Linked DNA regions of Homo sapiens: region 2 is linked to region 1. Evidence: promoter capture Hi-C in human tissues and cell types (Jung and others, 2019). All regions are on one chromosome and are shown on one strand. Each heading gives the region's core, a stretch centred on a gene start or on the middle of the fragment in contact. The rest is flanking DNA. Distances are from core to core; before and after follow the strand shown. Region 1 holds the start of PPP2CB (protein phosphatase 2 catalytic subunit beta). Region 2 has its middle 34 kb from the start of UBXN8.

Region 1 (3,779 bases), core at 1,008-3,507:
CCTCAGCCTCCTAAGGGCTAGGATTACAGGTGTGAGCCACTGCACCTGGCCCAGCCTCCTTTAAAGCCTTATAGACTAACCTCCTCAGAGAATGTAATATCTATTGCAATGATATCTCACCAGTATTGTTTCATCACCTTTTGTGTTTTGTTCAACTGGTTTGCTGCTATTTACAAGCTGTTGAGAGCAGGAGCTCTTCCAGCCTTATTTCCAACAATATAATCTATTTCTGTTGCTAGGAGAATTTATAGCTTTCCAAACAGACAATGAATGGTCTTTCACTCATTTGTCTACTGGCACACGCACAAAAAAATTCCTTAGACCTTCTTTCCTCTTCTCCAGGCAACTTCAAGCTTTTGCCTTGAGAGAAGGTTGAAAATTCAGTTCAATTACCGCTTTTCTAAAGCTTTCTGTAATTGTTCCCTAGGAGGGGTAAGGCAACTAACATATCGCTCCCATACCGTACTATTGGGCAGGCACTTTTAAAACTTAATCTTCACAAAGGTAGGCCTTTTATTGATTTTAACAGATGAAGAATTTGAGGCTTACGGAGGTTTGATGATTGCCCAAGGACATAGCTAGGGGGTTAGCAAACACAAGAACCCTTGCTTTCTGATACAGGATGTTACCTTCCACTTGGGTTCAGCCGCAGTAGTATGTACCTTTAATAGACACAGTATGATCATTTAGCACATGCTATTCAAGGTATCTGGCAGCTAGCAGCTGCTCATGTTACCTAACTGAATTTAGGTCCTCCCTCAAGTACGGCAAAGCCAAACACTGACATTGGGGTTTGTAGTGAAAGTGAGGCATTTATTGCATTGCACCAAGCAAGAAGAATCAGGCAGCTCATGCTTAAGACCCCAACTCCCTGATGGTTTACAGGTAAGGGGTTTTTTGTGTGCTTTTTTTTTTTTTTTTGAAACAGAGTTTCACTCTTGTCACCCATGCTGGAGTGCAATGGCGAGATTTCGGCTCACTGCAACCTCCACCTCCCGATTTCAAGTGATTCATCTGCCTCAGCCTCCCAAGTAGCCGGGATTACAGGCGCCCACCACCATGCCCAGCTAGTTTTTGTATTTTTAGTAGAGAAGGGGTTTCACCATGTTGGCAGGCTGGTCTCCAACTCCTGGCCTCGGCCTCCCAAAGTGCTGGGATTACAGGCATGAGCCACTGCGCCCAGCCCAGGTAAGGATTTTTAAAGGCAGGGAGGCAGAGGTTACAGGCAAAGTCATAAATCAATACATGGAGGCTATACGTGGGTTTGATCTAAAAAGCCAGGATATCTGAAGCAGGGACCCACAGGTCATAGATGGATTCAAAGATTTTCTGATTTGCAATTGGTTAAGGAGGCAAAGCTTTGTGAATTCTTCCAGGCTCCTCAGGAAGAAATTTAGAACAAAGATAGGTAGTTTGAGATCTCCATGCCAGTGGACACCATTTTCCATTTGGTGAGGTCCAGGTTTCTGAAAAACAACTCAGGGACATATGTCGTCTTTAGTTTCTATAGGGAAGCAAACATTTTGTGAATCTAACGTCCTTGGCTACTGTCTTAAGCTATTATTACCTTCTTGCTTATCAGGTTGCTCATTGACTTATTGAGGAAGTTAGGTGCCTGGAATGTCCCTTCAGGGAACTCAAGATTTTCCTTTATTTCCATGCTTGGGGAGGGGGGTGCCTAGATGGCCCCTAAGAGGGGTCCCTGTTCTGTCTCTCAATAAATATTTGTTGAATGAACAAATCATTACAACTCAGTACACATTGCAGAAAATATAGCCAAGAGCTCTGGAGCTGGAAGGGCCACAGATTATCCTACAGAACAATCATTTCACTTTTCTAATGTCGAAAGGGAGGATTCGAGATGTTAGGGGCTACAGGTGAGGCTGGAAATAATTAATTTACTCCATCAATATTGAATGCCTGCTATTGAGTGCTAGACTCTGGGGAGACAATGTTAAGGGAAGCCCAAGTTTTCCAACTCCCTGTCCAGAGCGCTGCAAAGTACTGCAGGAAGCTAAAGTGAGGACAAAGTTCCCAGAGATCAGGATATTTAAAGGGAGAACCAGCAGAGCTTGGTCTGGGGCAGGGTGGGGAAAAGAGGGACCCTGGCCTCCTCGGACCGTTTCTCCGCCAAGCCACGCGAGGGCGCTGTTCTGCTCCTAGGGCGCCGTGTCCCGGCGGCGCCGCCTGCTCGCCTTTTCCCGGCGGAAATGCCCGAGCGATGACGGAAACCCGGAGGGAGGGGAGAGAAAGAGCGAGAGAAGGGGAAAGACAAGTCGGGAGAGGCCGGTAGGCGTGAGGCGGGCCTGAAGCGGCAGCGGGCGGCCTTCGTCCGGCGAGAGCTAGGCCGAGGACCCGCGCCGCGCTCCCCGGCACCTCACCGCGTCCTTCACCGACTCCCGCGGCGCGCGGCCGGGCGGGGAAGGGCGGGCGGGGGTCTCCTCCAGGCTGCGCGCTCGGAGCCGCCTGCTGGGCTTGGGCGGGGCGCGGGGCCCGCGGCCGCCCTACCCGGCTCAGTCCTCCCCCTGTGGGACCTGGCGACGGCGGCGGAGGGAGAGGGGAGCGGCGCCCGGGCCGGGGCCGGGGGCGGGTGGGGAGGGGGGAGGGCGGCGGCCGGGCTGGGGCTCGGGATCCGCATCGGGATCGGGCCGCCATGGACGACAAGGCGTTCACCAAGGAGCTGGACCAGTGGGTCGAGCAGCTGAACGAGTGTAAGCAGCTGAACGAGAACCAAGTGCGGACGCTGTGCGAGAAGGTGAGGGCGCCGCGGGGGCGAGTGCGGGAGCGCGGGGCTGGGACGGGCCGCCGCTTTCCTGCCCGCCCCGGTCCCGTCCGCCCCTGGCCCGGCGCGGCCCACCGGGGGCCTGCGGGGCTGTGGGTCCGGCTCCGGCGTCCACCTAGGCGGCCGGCCCATCGGTTCAGGGCCCGGGGCGTTGGGCTGCCCTCGCCTGCCCCTTCCACCTCCGCCTCACGCCCCCGGCCGGCTGCCCAGATCCCGGGCGTGGGGGGCTCGGGTGCGGACGGGCGGGGAAACGTAGCCCCCTGAGCCAAGCAGGAGGTTGGTCGGGGTCGCCTGCGCTCCACTGGGGAGTTCCTGCCACTCTAGCATTTCCCGAGTGGACTAGCGAGAGCGACGTCCGAAAAGGACCATTTTCAGACCAGTTTCTGAAAATGCAACTAAAATTAACCAGAATGTCGTGCGTATTAATGAACTTGTTAATAAATGCAGAATTTTTGTCAGGTGAACGGGGCACCTCAGAAATCACTAACTCAAGCCGGGCGTGGTGGCTCACGCCTGTGGCCACAGCTACTCGGGAGGCTGAAGCGGGAGGATTGCTTGAGCCCAGGAGTTAGAGACCAGCCTGGGCAACATAGTGAGGCCCCGTCTCCACACACAAAAAATTTTTTTTAATTAGCAGGGTGTGACGGCGGGTGCCTGTAATCCCAGCTATTCGGGAGGCTGAGGCGGGAGGATCGCTTGAGCCCAGGAGGTGGAGGCTGGTTGCAGTGAGTCGAGATCGCGCCACTGCACTCCAGCCTGGGCGACAGCAAAAAAAAAAAAAAAAAAATCGCTGATTCTTGAATGTGCCAAGCGTTTGTTTGCGGAGAGGTAGGCGTGATGGCCAACTGTGATTTTTAAAATAGAGGTTGACTTTGGTGGAAACAGATGGTGACTGGTCTTTGTGTTGAGTGGCTCTTGGAAGTAAAGTGTTGATTTTCAGAAACGAGAGCCGATCTTAAGTTTGGGAACAGTGTTTGCTGGAAATGATAAGTGGGAT
Region 2 (3,946 bases), core at 993-3,492, 35 kb after region 1:
ACATCTTTAACTTTGTTCCATCTGCCATCAAGTGGCATTACACCACTTCACATAGAGTATCAGAATCTTGTAATATATATCCCTAACTGTGCTATTGTCATAAATTTTGGTTTTATATGTATTATAAGCCCCATGCAACATTGCTATTATATTATCATCACTAAAATATCACTTAAAGGGATTTAGTAACAAGAAAAAAGTTTATTTACTCATATAAATCTGTGTTATTTCTAGTGTTCTTCATTGCTTTGTGTAGTTTTGTATTTCCATCTGGTATAGTTTTTCTTCTGCCTTAAGACTAACATTTTTTGTAGTGCAAGTTTGATGGTGATGAATTTTTTCAGCTTTTGTATGTCTTTAAAAGTATTTCTTTCATGTTCATGTGGGAAAGATCATTTTACTAGGTATAGGCCGAGCGCAATGGCTTATACCTGTAATCCAAACATCTTGGGAGGCAGAGGCAGGCTGATCACTTGAGGCCAGGAGTTCAAGACCAGCTGGGCCAACATGGTGAAAACCTGTCTCTACTAAAAATATAAAAATTAGCCGGGCATGGTGGCCTGCTAAACCCAGCTACTGGGAGGCTGAGGCACAAGAATCACTTGAACCCAGGAGGCAGAGGTTGCAATGAGCTGAGATCACACCACTGCACCCCAGCCTGGGCAACTCTGACTCAAAAAAAAAAAATTTTTTTTAAAGATCATTTTACTAGGTATAGAATTCTATCATTACCCATGGAATCACAGCCCATTAGCCTGCAATTCCACTAATTTAAGCTTGACTGCTGTCACCTTGTGCTTAGGTGCTGGGTTTTTCTCGGGCGCTCCTGCTCCCCATTCAGCAATCCTTTCACGCCTGCATACGAGGGAGGTCCTTCTCCATGCCCTCACCCCTTCCCCAGTTGGAGACTGCTGCTGTGTATCACTCAGTGCTGGGCTCATGGTAGGAGCAGGTGAGGTTCTCTGTTGTCCCAATTCAGCCTCAATCTTGGGCTGGCTCTTTGTGCTATGTTTTTGTTTTTCTCTTTTGAGATGGAGTCTTGCTCTGTCACCCAGGCTGGAATGCAGTGGCGCAATCTCGGCTCACTGCAACCTCCGCATGAAACCTCCGGGTTCAAGCAATTCTCCTGCCTCAGCCTCCCGAGTTGCTGGGATTACAGGCGCGCGCCACCATGCCTAGCTAATTTTTGTGTTTTTAGTAGAGACTGGGTTTCACCGTGTTGGCCAGGCTGGTCACAAACTCCTGACCTCAGGTGATCCACCCGCCTCAACCTCCCAAAGTGCCATGATTACAGGCATGAGCCACCGCACCCAGCCTGTGCTTTGGTTTTCAAGGTGAGGTTTTTCTAAGCATTCTTGCTCCTTCTACCTGTGGCTGCCAAACTTCTCCTTGTGTCCATGGTTGGCGTAGGGTGGGAGTTTTCGGCCCCATTCCTAGCAAGACTAGACATCTGTTTGATATCTGTATCCACCCTTCCCTCCAAGGTAGAGAATTTTTGCCTCGACCTTCTGCCAGCAGCAATAATCTTTGCCTGAGTCCTGGGAGAAGCAGATGGGTTTTGTTTTGGTTTTGTTTTGTTTTGTCTGCCTCTGTTCCTTCTCCAGAGACAATAGATCTGCCAGTTCCTGGCAGGCCATAGTACTTGCTGTACTTTCCCCAGCAGGTTAAGACCTTGGCTTGGTAGGAGAGGAGGGTCTGGGGAAGCCAGTGGAGCTTTGCGCTTGTTCCCCTACAGCCGCCAGTCACTCATTGTTTGCTCTGAGGTTGGCTTTCTCTGGTCTCCTGCCCTGTCTCAGTCCTCCTGAACACCTAGTGAAGGGTGAGGAGGAAGAACTTTCTAGAGAATGGGCACTCCCTTTGTGTCTGAAGCCCCCAGCCAGGACTGGCTTCATGGCATGGTACCTGTGCAGGGCCCCACACTTAGAAGGGCTTCATGTTTGGTTTACTGCATTGCTGTCGCCTATCGCCATCTTGAACTTCTTCACTTTTGAGTAAGGGTTCCCACATTTTCATTTTGCACTAAGGCCCACAAATTAAATAGCCCGTCTGGTTCCAAACTGATGCAGTAGCCCATGCGTGACCTTTACGAACATCAAAATCTTAGCTTGTATAGCAGCTGCCTTTTCTCCCGTGTTTTGCCAAAGGGAAGACAGTTTCTGTGTCCCGTCTCTCCTTGGAGAGGGTTATCTCTTTTTGGAATTCAGTTTACATAATTGCTTTGCAGCCTCAGCTCACTGTGGGCTCAAAAATGTTATGATTTTGTGTATCATCCAGCTGTTTCTTTTCCTTTTCTTTTTTTTTCTTGAGACAAGGTCTCAGTATATTGCCGAGGCTAGTCTTGAACTCCTAGGCTCAGTGATCCCCCCACCTCAGCCTCCCAAGTAGCTGGGACCACAGGCATGCAGGCACCATGCACCCAGCTAGATCCAGCTGTTTCTTGTTGCTAGGGTGAGAGCAGCATTCTTTACAGATCTCTGTGTCCTAAGTGGAAGTCTAAATAAGCCATATGATTTAGAGCTTGTTATTTTTAGAATCTCAATTTCAGCTAGCAGAGCAATTACCTGACTAAAGCTTTTTCCCTCCCTTTAAAGGGAAATTTCACACTTTTTAATTTAAATATTTCCTTCAGAAAAATGTCACTTTATTTTCTTTTATCCCCACAACAACAAAACCCCTTAGTGTCACGGTCACAGTAGAACAACCTAGAATGACTTTATATTGTCTTTTGATAATAGCTACTGTATAATTAAGCTCAAATGAGCAGAGCTCCCATATCAATCCATGATAGTGAGGAAGAGCGTTTACAAAGTGAAATACAGAGATGAAGAGTAATAAAATGAGGGCAAATTCTCTAAATAAGACCATGTAGGACCAAGTGTGGTATCTCACGCCTGTTATCTCAGCACTTTTGGAGGCCGAGGCGGTAGGATCACCTGAGTCCAGGAGTTAGAGACCAGCCTGGGCAACATAGTGAGACCCGATCTCTACAAAAATAAAAAATAATTAGCTGGGCATGGTAGCACGCACCTGTGGTCAGTCCTCAGCTACTCAGGAGGCTGAAGCAGGAGGATCAATTGAGCCCAGGAGGTCGAGGCTCCAATGAGCTGAGATCGGGCCACTGTATTCCAGCCTGGGCAACATAGTGAGACCCTGTCTCTACAAAAATATTTAAAAATTAGTCAGGCATTGGTACTTTGAGGTTTTGTAATGAAAAAAAAAGCTAAAGATAAAAAATGAAAAATAAATAAAATAAAAATTATCCAGGCATGGGAGGCAGATCAGCAGCAGTGGAGGGTCCTGGGTGGTGCAGCCTGCACCAGTGTGGGGTCACTCCTGAGGGCCGCACCTCGCGGGGGCACTGGGGTTGCCGGTAATGTCATTGGGAGCATAGTCCCAAGGCCCTTCTCCTCCTGGTCTCAGCCTCCTCCACCTCTCCTGGGCCATCGGGTTTTGTCATGTTGGAAACAAGGTCTGAACTGAGGCCAGTTAACTAAGATCAAGGTACAAGGCCTATTTTGCAAGGAATAGCAATATGCCCCCTTCAAAGATGACAGCTGGCCACAGGACTAAGCTTGGCAACAAGATGTGAGTGGAAGCTCCCAAAGCTCTCTAAAGAGGCCTCCTCTTCTCTGCTTCTTGGAGTGTGGACAGGATAGCTGGAATCCTAGCATCCAGTTTTGAATACCAGGTGACCTTGAAGATGAAAGCCATGAACTGAGACAATGTCCTTATCAGATTTTTATTTTTTGTTTGTTTGTTTTGAGATGGAGTCTCACTTTGTCACCCAGGCTGGAGTGCAGTGGCGCGATGTCAGCTCACTGCAACCCCCATCTCCCAAGTTCAAGCGATTCCGGTATCTCCACCTCCCAAGTAGCTGGGATTATAGGCGCAAGCCACCATGCCCGGCTGTTTGTGTTCGTGTTTTTTTTTTTTTCTTTTTTTAGCA

Evidence for each region. Contacts are between HindIII fragments. The study calls those that stand out against the background at their distance.
Region 2: a contact is called between a fragment that was not itself captured here and the fragment with the promoter of PPP2CB in region 1, in 3 of the 25 tissues and cell types used here (ovary, pancreas and psoas muscle).

Annotation. Positions count from the first base shown.
Region 1 is chr8:30,811,296-30,815,074 of GRCh38, reverse strand. PPP2CB (protein phosphatase 2 catalytic subunit beta) reads left to right here and starts at 2,257. Exons shown (of 7, transcript NM_001009552.2): 1 at 2,257-2,755. The coding sequence starts at 2,654. RefSeq lists silencers at 2,384-2,603, 2,634-2,693, 2,774-2,883, 2,944-3,003. The HindIII fragment of the contact is 3,135 bases long and covers 48-3,182 here.
Region 2 is chr8:30,776,026-30,779,971 of GRCh38, reverse strand. No RefSeq gene overlaps it. Among named protein-coding and RNA genes, the nearest start is that of UBXN8, 34 kb to the right of the region's middle. The HindIII fragment of the contact is 4,438 bases long and covers 24-3,946 here.